Regions from separate parts of the Homo sapiens genome. Here all the other regions are linked to region 1. The links are contacts of gene promoters, found by promoter capture Hi-C in blood cells and fetal thymus (Javierre and others, 2016). All regions are on one chromosome and are shown on one strand. Each heading gives the region's core, a stretch centred on a gene start or on the middle of the fragment in contact. The rest is flanking DNA. Distances are from core to core; before and after follow the strand shown. Region 1 holds the start of FOXK2 (forkhead box K2). Region 2 holds the start of DUS1L (dihydrouridine synthase 1 like). Region 3 holds the start of CCDC57 (coiled-coil domain containing 57).

The links. The method cuts DNA at HindIII sites, captures the fragments that hold promoters and counts their contacts. A CHiCAGO score of 5 or more calls a contact.
Region 2: a contact is called between the fragment with the promoter of DUS1L here and the fragment with the promoter of FOXK2 in region 1, in 1 of 17 cell types (neutrophils). The highest score is 5.4, in neutrophils.
Region 3: a contact is called between the fragment with the promoter of CCDC57 here and the fragment with the promoter of FOXK2 in region 1, in 1 of 17 cell types (neutrophils). The highest score is 7.8, in neutrophils.

The regions. Positions count from the first base shown.
Region 1 is chr17:82,517,631-82,521,393 of GRCh38, forward strand. FOXK2 (forkhead box K2) reads left to right here and starts at 2,102. Exons shown (of 9, transcript NM_004514.4): 1 at 2,102-2,677. The coding sequence starts at 2,259. RefSeq lists silencers at 1,522-2,181, 2,632-2,811, 2,892-2,941. The HindIII fragment of the contact is 16,273 bases long and covers 1-3,763 here.
Region 2 is chr17:82,063,785-82,067,547 of GRCh38, forward strand. DUS1L (dihydrouridine synthase 1 like) reads right to left here and starts at 2,020. Exons shown (of 14, transcript NM_022156.5): 1 at 1,829-2,020; 2 at 1,039-1,285; 3 at 342-450. The coding sequence starts at 1,275. RefSeq lists an enhancer at 660-1,388 and silencers at 1,612-1,661, 1,952-2,021, 2,032-2,091. The HindIII fragment of the contact is 12,631 bases long and covers 1-3,763 here.
Region 3 is chr17:82,210,981-82,214,743 of GRCh38, forward strand. CCDC57 (coiled-coil domain containing 57) reads right to left here and starts at 1,862. Exons shown (of 19, transcript NM_001394669.1): 1 at 1,805-1,862. RefSeq lists a silencer at 1,403-2,322 and an enhancer at 2,273-3,215. The HindIII fragment of the contact is 36,876 bases long and covers 1-3,763 here.

The DNA of each region.
Region 1 (3,763 bases), core at 852-3,351:
GTTGGCCAGGCTGGTCTCCAACTTCTAACCTCAAGTGATCCACCCACCTCGGCCTCCCAAAGTGTTGGGATTCAGTCATGAGCCACCGTGCCAGGCCTCTGTACCTAAATTATATCATTTCTCTCTTCTAATTGTTCTTTGCTATTTAACAAGCAGCAAATAGAGGAACCCTGGGGTGTTTGCTATAACCTGTATATATAGGCTATAATAGGATCTTCTCCTCACACACCCTGCAGGAACCACCATGCTGAAAGAAGTGAGACAATTCAGGGGGCAGTCCCTCCCCAGCAGAGACTAAATTGGTACCATTTGTTGCTATTTCAGTTTTGCGAAGATGCGCGCTTGGAGCCCAAGCCATGGTTTCTAGGGCTGACACTGACTTCCCACGGAATTCTTCCTGTTTAAGAGGTTGTAGACTTTTCATGATCCTGAACCTTGAACGTCTCCACAACTGGTTAAGTACCCGTGAGATACATTTACAGGATTTTTTCTTTCTTTTCCCAATTTTTTTTTTTTTTTTTTTTTTTGAGACGGAGTCTCCTCTGTCACCCAGGCTGGAGGGCAGTGGCGTGATGTCTGCTCACCACAACCTCCGCCTCCCAGGTTCGAGCGATTCTACTGCCTCAGCCTCCCAAGTAGCTGGGACTGCAGGCACGCCCCACCATGCCTGGCTAATTTTTGTATTTTTAGTAGAGACGGGCTTTTACTATGTTGGGCAGGCTGGTCTTGAACTCCTGACCTTGTGATCCACCCGCCTCGGCTTCCCAAAGCACTGGGATTACAGGTGTGAGCCACCGCGCCCGGCCACAGGATTTTTTCTTTTTAATGTTAGGAGTTTCATTGATTAGTGAACATCTGGACTATTGATCATCTTGATTTAGATGGGATCTTGTAATTTTTTAAACGGTGGCGAAATTCTTTTTTTAAAAACTTAGTATCAGATTGGTTAAGATATTAACTATTCGTTCATGAGAGTTCATATATATATAGTTCATATATATATAGTTCATATATGTATATAGTTCATATATATAGTTCATATATATATAGTTCATATATATATAGTTCATATATATATATATAGTTCACATATATATAGTTCATATATATACATATGAGACGTAGTTTCACTCTTGTTGCCCAGACTGAAGTGCAGTGACGCGATCTCGGCTTACTGCAACCTCCACCTCCCAGGTTGAAGCAATTCTCCTGCCTCCGCCTCCCAGGTTTAAGCAATTCTCCTGCCTCAGCCTCCTGAGTAGCTAGGACTACAGGTGTGCACCACCACACCCGGCTATTTTTTTTTTTTTTTTTGTATTTTTAGTAGAGCTGGGATTTCACCATGTTGGCTAGGCTGGTCTCGAACTCCTGACCTCAGGTGATCCGCTCGCCTCGGCCTCCCAAAGTGCTGGGCTTACAGGCGTGAGCCACCGCGCCCGGCCTCGTGTATATTTTTAAACTGTGTGCTGACGACAGTTAAGTAAATGTGATTCAGAACTTCTGCGTATTTTGCAGGACAGTTTTGACACAATGACATGACTCGCTAGCCAGGAAAGATAACGACATCCAGTCCTGGAGCTGCTGGTTAAAAACGAACGTGTCACCGGGTCCCCTGGGTCTGAGGCCACGCGGCACGCGGCCCCTCCGCGATATTCCCGCACCTCGCGGGGAAAAGGCCGCTCGGCGGCCGGGCCTGGGCTCGCGGGCCGCCGCCTATCCGCACCCCGGCGTCCACGCCGGGTTGGGGGCCGCTGCGTGCCTGGCGCCCGCTGTGACCTTGGGCCTGGTCCCGCCCGCCGCGCCTAAGGCGCTGCCAGGCCGGGCTCAGACCCCCGAGCTCCCGCGCCCGCGCCAACCCCGCGCCAGCCCCGATCCCGCGCGGGCTGCCGACTGTCCGCCCCGGGTTTTCCGCGGCGCCCGGAGTCGGGACTGCGTCGGGCGTCGCCGCCGGACGTGCCGGCAGCTTGGTGCGACGTGTCTTGCCATTGGCCTGCTTCGGTAGCCCCACTGCCGTACGCCGCCCCCATTGGCCGGCGTAACCGTCCGTCAGCGAGGGGCGGGCCCGGCGTGCCGGCTCGGTGGCGCGGCCGCGCGTGCTCCCGCCCCTCGCCGCCGCTCGCTCGCTCGCCGGCCGGCGGCCTCCGCTCGGCCCCCTCCCTCAGCTCCGGTGCGCGGCGGCCGACGACCCGCGCGGCCTGGGCCTCGGCCCGCGCCACCGGCGCCCGCGCGGAGCGGCCCGGGGGCCCTCACGCAGGCCCATGGCGGCGGCCGCGGCGGCGCTCTCGGGCGCGGGCACGCCACCCGCGGGCGGCGGGGCCGGGGGCGGCGGGGCCGGGGGCGGCGGGTCCCCGCCGGGCGGCTGGGCCGTGGCGCGCCTGGAGGGCCGCGAGTTCGAGTATCTGATGAAGAAGCGCTCGGTGACCATCGGCCGCAACTCGTCGCAGGGCTCGGTGGACGTGAGCATGGGCCACTCGAGCTTCATCTCCCGGCGCCACCTCGAGATCTTCACGCCCCCGGGCGGCGGCGGCCATGGCGGGGCCGCTCCGGAGCTGCCGCCCGCGCAGCCCAGGCCCGACGCCGGCGGCGACTTCTACCTGCGCTGCTTGGGCAAGAACGGGGTATTCGTGGACGGCGTGTTCCAGAGGCGCGGGGCGCCGCCGCTGCAGCTGCCGCGCGTGTGAGTGGCCTCGGGGCGGGGCGGGCGGGGTCTGCGGCCTGCAGCGCCTGGCAGGACGGGACGGGACACGCGCCCAGGCCCGGGACCACCCACGAGCGGGGGCCCGACTCTCCCACAGCCGGGACCACCAGCGGGACCCAGGCCCCGGCTGGATCCCAACCCTCGACAGCCCCTGGCCCCGACCCCCGTCCTCCCGGTCCCCTTCCTGGCAGGTGCAGCCCCCCGTCTTTCCCCCTTCCTGGAGCCGGGGCTGCGGGCGGCTGCGCGCGCGGGTCAAGGTTTCTGGGTTCTGTGCGTGCGGGGAGTTCACGTGTGCTGTTTCTATTCTGCAGCGAGGTCGCGCTGAACAGAAATGTGAAAACGGTGTGCGGTGGGAGGAACTGCCCCGAACTAAAATCTATGTCTCTTAACCGATGAAGGGTTGTCTGTTGTCTTTTGTTGTTGTTGTTGTTCAGTCGTTTTCAGTAGTGAGCTGTTTCAAGAGTGCGGTGTTTTAAGCAGGAAGGACTCCTTTTTCCCTGCCGTGTTTTCAGTAGGCCAAATTGGAAGACGCTTCAAGCATGATGGATTTTCAATCTGTGCTCTGAACCTTAAAATTTAGGGAAAACTAGATGCTTTTCGCATAACTTCTACAAAAAGACAGTTGATTAGGAATTATTACAAGGTCATGTAGAGTGTTAAGTCAGCCTGATAGGGAACTGCCTATCCTGCTACAAAACAATTTAGCTTGGTCCTGTGGTTTTATGAAGTTATCGTTTACTCTGCTTGAAACACAAACTTGCTGTCTAGGAAATGCTAATTATTCCTCAGGGGCTCACTTCTAGATCATTGCAAGTACAGCCTTTGTCCACACAAACTGGAATTTTTTTGTTTTTTGTTTTTTGAGACGGAGGCTCACTTTGTCGCTCAGGCTGGAGTGTAGTGGCGCGATCTTGGCTCACTGCAATCTCCGCCCTTTGAGTTCAAGTGGTTCTCCTGCCCCAGCCTCCCGAGTAGCTGGGATTACAGGCGCCTGCCACCGCGCCCGGCTAATTTTTTGTATTTTTAGTAGAGACGGGGTTTCACCATCTTGGCCAGGCTGGTATT
Region 2 (3,763 bases), core at 770-3,269, 450 kb before region 1:
CTGGAACCAAGTAACACCTCCTCAGGGGCCCGGTGAGGTAGCAGGCTCAGCCCCACACACAGCAGTGCAAGGGGGTAATGGGGACCCTGTATCAGCAATCATGTTTATGCAGAGGGAGCTCCCTGAGGGAAGAGAGAGCCAGTAGGGCTCGGCCCCTAGCCCCCAAGGCCTGAGGACAGCCACCCTCCAGAGGCGGAGCACAGAGGACAGCTGGCTCCAGCCTGAGCCACTGTCACGACAGAGGCAGGGCCTGCCGTCCTCCAAGCTCACCACACCTGGGGCTGCACTGAGCTGGCTCTGGCCCCTGCCCCAGGTGCCCCCATGCTCCACATGGAGCTCACCTCTCTTGGCTATCATCTGTGGGCAGCCCAAGTTCAGGTCAATGGCGTCACAGTAATCCTGAGCCAGGAGAGCCGCCTGAACAAACACCTCCGGGTCATTGGCACAGAACTGGAGAAGATGCAGGAGTCAGCCACGGGCCCAGCCAGGCCCTAGTCCCTTGCTGCCCAGCCCTACGAGAGGTCCAGTGTGACCCCATGAGGGTGTGGGCCCAGGTTCACTGCAGGAGGGTGCTCTGTCCTGCGGAGGCTTACAATATGACAAAGCCGGGAGGAGTCCCCAAGCCACCCGGATTTACAGATTTTCTTCTGAACTGTGGCAGAAGCCACAATCACTGACTTCTGAAGAGCAGAGCCATCTCCACTGGTTCTGAAGAGGGAGTGTGAGTGTGAGAGGCAGCAATCCAGAGGCCCCAGCAGGGCTGCAAACCTCACAGCACCCAGGCTGCCTGAGCCACTCCTAGAGAATGGGGTTGGATTCTGGCAGGTGCACCTGGCAGCCCTGGCTCCACCACAGGAATCACTGCTGTGGCTACGTGGACTCTACATGCCTGGTGCCACCTTCTCCCTCTCCTCCTGGAATTGAGCTGTCTCTGGAAAGGCTGAAAGTGATGTCCCGCCACAGAGAGAAGGGTTTTTCCCCAGGCATTCCAGGACCGGGAACCCAACCGCGGCCGCGGCCACAGCCCCTCCTGCGCACCTGCACGATGAGGGGCCGGTCCTCGGGGCACACCTCGCAGTACAGGTTCTCCTTCCGGTAGTTGGCGTCGCGGACAAAGACCTGGGCATGCAGCATGGGCGTGTAGCAGAGCTGTGCCCCGTGGCGCCGGCTCAGCAGCCTCCAGGCCAGCTCGCTCTGGTCCACCATGGGGGCCACGACGTGGCGGGCCCCTCGCAGGGTGCGGCTCCAGAACTCGAAGCCCTGCAGCTTTGGCATCGTCTCCAGGCTGGGGGAAAGGCGCAGACCCGGGGTTCAGCCAGGCCCAACGAGGGGCTTAAGACTCAACTCAGAGGCAGCGGTCACCCTTCTAAGGCCGCTCCAGTACCACCGTTGGGTCACACGCGGGGGCACTAAAGGCGGGGGTCGGTGCAGGCTGGAGAACGGCCACTCCAGTGCCGCCACCTCCTAGCGGACCTCGGGGGAGCCGCTGGACCCCTGGGACTTGACCCTCCCTGGGGAGCGGGACTCGATGTCGGCCTGGTAGGGGACTGGCGTGAAGGGGGAAGAAACCTTGACGCCAGCGTCCCCGCGGGCCTGGCCCTGAGCAGGCCGCCCGGCGGTGAAGTTAGGACCCCCGGCCCCTTCCCGGGAGAATCGGCTCCGCGCCGGGCCAGGGGAAGGGCAGAGCTTCCTTCTCCGCACCCGGCCAGGCGGCCCGGCTGGCCCGAAACGCCACAGGGGCGCCCCTCGCGAGACTCCTCCGGAGCCACGCGGCGGGCAGCGTTTGCTGTGTGAAGTGACAGGAGCCCACACGCCTCCGCGTCCTCACCGCGCGAGGGCCCCGCCGTGTCCGCCGCGCGCCTTTGGCTCCGAGGGCGCCGGGTGCCGGTGTCCCGGGCCCGCCCCTCTCCGGCCTCGCCGCCGCCCGGGGCCCCTGCAGCTCCCGGGGCGCCGCGAACGCCCGCACCGCGCCGGGGCCGCCGCCGGGCCGCAGCCGGGCCCAAGGCTCCGCGCCGCCACCGGAAGGTGCCCGGTCCTGCGCGGTCCGGGCGGCCCACGGTGCGGCGGGAAACGCGTTCCCCGGAAACCGCGCCCGGCTCCGAGGGGACCGGCGACGAGAGGTCGCGGCGCGGGGTCGGAGGTCAGAGGCTGAGGTCACCACCGTACCCGTCAGGCCGTGGCTAGAGAGGGGTCGGGGCTCGCCGGGACTCACCGACAGCTCGCTGGAAACGAGGCATGTGGAAATTGGGCCTCGCTGAGGCGCACATAAGGCCCGGGCCGCGGGTAGACCGTGGGCGCTGAGGCCCTGCGCTGCCCAGCCCCCAAGTTCGCATTGGGGGCTTCATCCCGTTATATCCTAAAGCGGCCCCAGAGCCCTGCCTCGAACCCACTCACCTGCCGCCTCTGAAAGCCACTCACTTTCCGCCGCTGCGTTGCGGAAAATCACCCTCCAGGGACCTTCCTTGCCCGCCCTGGGTTTCCGCAGCCGCCAGCCTTCGATCGACTTTCCTACCCGCCGTGGACCCTCCTTGGGTTATTTCGAGCTGTGGGGACCCACTGGGAACCCCAGAGTGGATGTGAAGGTTATTTTAAACTGAAGGCATTTGAGACCCAACAGATGTAAAAAGCAGCTTTGTCAGAGCTTTCCATATCTGAGAGCGAAGCCCGAAGTTGAACCAGGACATTCAGTACCTAAAACATGTGAAATCTCTTGGGCCCCCGGAATCACTAAGGAAAACTCAGGCTGGAAGCTGCTCAGGGCAAACCTGCCTCCCGCTCTATTCAGAGTCACCCTCTGCTCGCTGAGATAGATGGATATCTGACTGACTCCTTTGAAAAGGCTCATCAGAAGGCTGGGCGCGGTGGCGCACATTGAGACCAGGAGTTCGAGACCAGCCTGGCCAACACGGTGAAACCCTGTCTCTACTGAAAATACAAAATTAGCCAGGTGTGGTGGTGCGCCCCTGTAGTCCCAGCTACTCGGGAGGCTGAGGCAGGAGAATCGCTTGAACCTGGGAGGCGGAGGTTGCAGTGAGCCGAGATCAAGCCATTGTACTCCAGCCTGGCGACAGAGCAAGACTGATCAAAAAGGAAAAGAAAAAAAAAAAAGGCTAATCAGAAACTCAAAACAATGTAACCGTTTGTGTATCACCTATCTGTGACCAGGAAGCTCCCTCCCCGATGGCTTTTGCTTTAAATTGTCCCGCCTTTCCAGACTGAACCAATTTTTTTTTTTGAGACGGAGTCGCTTTCTGACCCAGGCTGGAGTGCGGTGGCGTGATCTCGGCTCACTGCAACCTCCATCTCCCAGGTTCAAGCGATTCTCCTCCCTCAGCTTCCCAAATAACTGGGATTACAGGCACCCACCAACACACCCAGCTAATTTTAGTATTTTTAGTAGAGATGGGGGTTTCACCATGTTGGCCAGGCTGGTCTCGAACTCCTGACATCAGGTGATCCGCTGGCCTCCCAAAGTGCTGGGATTACAGGCGTGAGCCACCGCAGCTAGCCGCTATGTTCATCTTACATATATTGATTGATGTCTCATGTCTCCCTAAAATGTATAAAACCAAGCTGTGCCCCAACCACCTCAGGCACATGTTGTCAGGACCTCCTGAGGCTGTGCCATGGGCATGTCCTCAACCTTGGCAAAATAAACCTTCTAAATTAACTGAGACCTGTCTCAGATTTTCTGCATTCACAGATAGAACAGCCTTGGTGGTCTTCAGAGGTGGCCAGATGTCCCTGGTGGACTGCAAGGTTG
Region 3 (3,763 bases), core at 612-3,111, 310 kb before region 1:
GAGACTCCGTCTTAAAAAAAAAAAAAAAAGAAAAAAAAAAAAGAAAAAGAGAGAAAGAAAGAAACATCATCTTTTACATAGTGGCAAGATATTTCCCCACAAAATATTTATTATTTACAAAGGGAAGGACCCTAACTTTATGGACACACTTGGCAGACACCACCTCAGCCCCCAGGACGTGACTAGCACCAACAGCCAGGGGCATCCTGTGTCTCGTAAGACGCTGGGAAGGGCACAATTTCCCTGTTGAGGTTTTCTTGCCAAAAATCAGTAATATGAAATCAATTATGACAAAACATCAGAGAAATGCCCCCGAACTGGGGGGCATTTTATAAAATAGTGGACTCATCATTGGATCCTGGACCACGGTAAAGTCATCCATGAGGTAGCTGCTAAGCAAGAATAAATACTGGAGACCAGATCATGGGATGATACCAACATGAACGCCAGCGTCTACATGTTGCTGAATGAACTGTGGTTCTCTAAGAGGTCAGCATTCTAGGGGCTCTGGGCAAAAGGCACACGGGAAATCTGTGCTCCTTTTGTATCCTTTTTCTAAGTTACAGATAATTTTTTTTTTTTTTGAGACCGAGTTTCGCTCTTGTCTCCCAGACTGGAGTGCAATGGCGCGATCTTGGCTCTCCGCAACCTGCGCCTCTCGGTGTGGTACCCTACTTTGTTTTAACCTGACTGACTCTCTCTTAGCTGAGAGGGCCGGACAGACACCATTTTGGTTTCTTCGCTTGCAGCCCCTTGTCCCCGTCCCTTAAGGACATAACTGGGGCAAGCTGACTCCAAGCACATCCAGGAATGCGCTTACTGATAAAATACTGATAAGAAACTGGAGCAAGCTGTACCAGCAGCTCCTGGGAACGCGCTCGGTTGATGGTACCCAAAGCCCCTGCGTTTATCACTTTGTGATAATTTAAGCCCCTGTACCTGGAACTGTTTATTTTCCTGTAACTGTTTCTGTAACCATTTATCTTTTAACTTTTTGCCTATTCTGCTTCTGTAAAAAAATCGCTTCAGCTAGCCTCCCCTCCTCTATTTAGACCAAGGTATCAAAAGAAATCTAGCCCCTTCTTCGGGGCCGAGGGAATTTGCAGCTCTAGCAGTCTGTCAGTCGCTGGCAATACAGGACTCCTGAGTAGTCTCAGAGTGTGGCGTTCTCTCTATAACTCCCTCAGTTACAACATCGGGTTCAAGCGATTCTCCTGCTTCAGCCTCCGGAGTAGCTGGGATTACAGGCGTGCACCACCACGCCCAATAATTTTTGTATTTTTAGTAGAGAGGGGGTTTCACCATGTTGGCCAGGCTGGTCTCGAACTCCGGGCCTCAAGCAATCTGCCCGCCTCTGCCTCCCAAAGTGCTGGATTACAGGCGCGAACCACCGCCTCCGGCCTTTTTTTTTCCTCTCTTTTTTTTTTTTTTTTTTTAAACTCACAGACACTGTAAGGCTGCCTGGGCGCGGAGCCGTCCTTGCCGGCGGCGGAACCCGGGGAATTCTCCCGGGGCTGCGGGGCCCTGGTCGGCAGCGCCCACCGCCCCAGGTCACCCACGGGAGACCGAGGGAACGCTCCCGCTCCACGCGGCCGCAACCCCCGCCCCGCCCCGCCGCAGCCTCCGCGAGGGGATCCCCGGTCCGGGCCTGGCCGAGCTCTGAGGGTCGACCTCGCGCTCCAGGTCCCCACCAAAGCGCTGCGTCCGACAGGACGGCAGCTGCTGGGGTTTTCTACAGGAAGAGTGGTCGGAGCGGCGCCCCCCACGCCTCCCACGCCTCCCACGCCGCCCGCCCGCACCTCACCCTAACGCCCGCCAGCAGCGCTGGCCAGGTCCCGCCGCGTTGCCACAGCGACCGGGTCAGTCGGCCGCGTCCGGCTGCGCTCGGTGCAGCGCTCGGGTCCCGCCGACAGGAAACGGGGTCCCTGGCGCTAGGTTCCGGCCCCTCCCGCCCCGCCGGGTTCCGCGCTGCGCCCGGGTCCGAGGGGCGCCCCGGCCGACCCGACCACCGCCGCAGATCGAAGGAGGGAGCCCGGCCTCCTCACCGGTCAGCGGGGCGACTCCGGACGGGGCTCCGGGCTATGGGGACGGCGGGTTCCGCCGCGCGAGGCGCCCCCACCTTCGCCGCCCCCGGCCCGGCCGAGGGTCCCCAGGCGCCCGCTTCCTGAGGCCGCCCGGCTCGCGGTCCCGAAGGGTTGACTTGAGCTTTTGCCCTGAGATGAAGGGAGCACGGGGCGGCCGAGGCTGCCCGTGGGGGTCTGTTCGGGCCGGGGGCGCCACGAAGTCCTGCCTAAGGGTCGGCTGCGGCCACCGGGGCACGAGTTCCCGGCGCTGCCCACGGGCTCGGAGACCGGCGGGGCCCAGGGGCCGTGCGCGCGGTCGCTCAGACCCTGATTAGGGAACTGGGGGAAGGAGGGGGGTCGGGACCCACCGAGGCCCGAAGTCGCCCCCACCATCCTGTGGGAACAACATCCTCAGGCACAGCCATTCCCAACCATTCACATCCTCAGAAAAAGGCACGTGTCCGTATCCATCTGCGGATGGATGAACAGAGCCCGGCCCCGGGACAGAGCAGCCTGGCTCACCCGAACCCTCAGCCCGCAATTCTGCGTGGGAGTGGAGGGGGTGTTTGGTGTCTGGGAATTCCCCTGGTGGGGCAATAAGCCAGGGGTCTGGTGTCATCCTCCACCCACATTGTTAACACTGGATCACTCCTCTCCGTGCCGTGCCTGCAGCCCAGGCACCCTGCAGCCTGTCCTCCCCGAACCATGCGTCCTGGTAGAGCTGTCTCCCTCGCCCACAGTCCTCAGTCCCGCCTCACACACCAAACCCTCTTCTGCCTCAGGTCCTTTGCGCCAGTTGCCTCTGCCTAGACTTGGTTCCCTGGATGCCCCCTCCCCACCCCATGTGTATGTCCGGCTCCCTGGACCCACCCCCCACACTGTGTGTCTAGCCCCCTGGACCCACCCCCCACTCTGTGTCTAGTCCCCTGGACTCCCCTCCCCACCCCCTGTGTCTAGCTCCCTGGACCCCCAACCTGGCCCATGTGTCCAACTCCCAGGACCCCCCCACCCTGTGTCCAGCTCCCTGGTTTCCCCCACCACCCCATGTGTTTGGCTCCCTGTCCTGCTGCCTTCTCAGTGCTTGTGCACCCCCAGCCTCATCAGACTTGTCACTCTATTAGAACAGGATGTAGGGCCTGGACTGTTGGCTCCCTGCTACCCCCACCCACAGGACAGTGCTGGGGTTGACCCGACTTTGGCTGCACATTTGACTGGCCCCTGGATCAGCTCTAGGACTAGATGTACCCAAAAGGATGCCCACATCCTTGCCTCAGCTCCTGCCTCTGCCCACCCAGAGAGCTGCCTTGCCCCCATGTCCACGATGCAGCCACCAGGCCTGGGTAAGCGTGGGTGTCCGAGACGGGCTGGGACACCCAGAAGAGGAGCCAGGACTTGCTTGGTCTGTATCCCGGCTCTGCATGCCTCAGTGTCCCTGCCTGTAAAGTGGGATCTATGGGAACCCATGTGTGGGCCGGGCACAGTGCTCACACCTGTGAACCCAGCACCTTGGGAGGCCAAAGGGAGGATCCTTTGAGCTCGGGAGACAGGGTCTCGCTCTGTTGCCCAGGCTGTAGTTCAGCGGCGTGATCTCAGCTCACTGCAGCCTCCGCCTCCCAGGTTCAAGCGATTCTCCTGCCTCAGCTTCCTGAGTAACTGGGATTACAGGCACTTGCCACCATGCCCAGCTAATTTTGTATTTT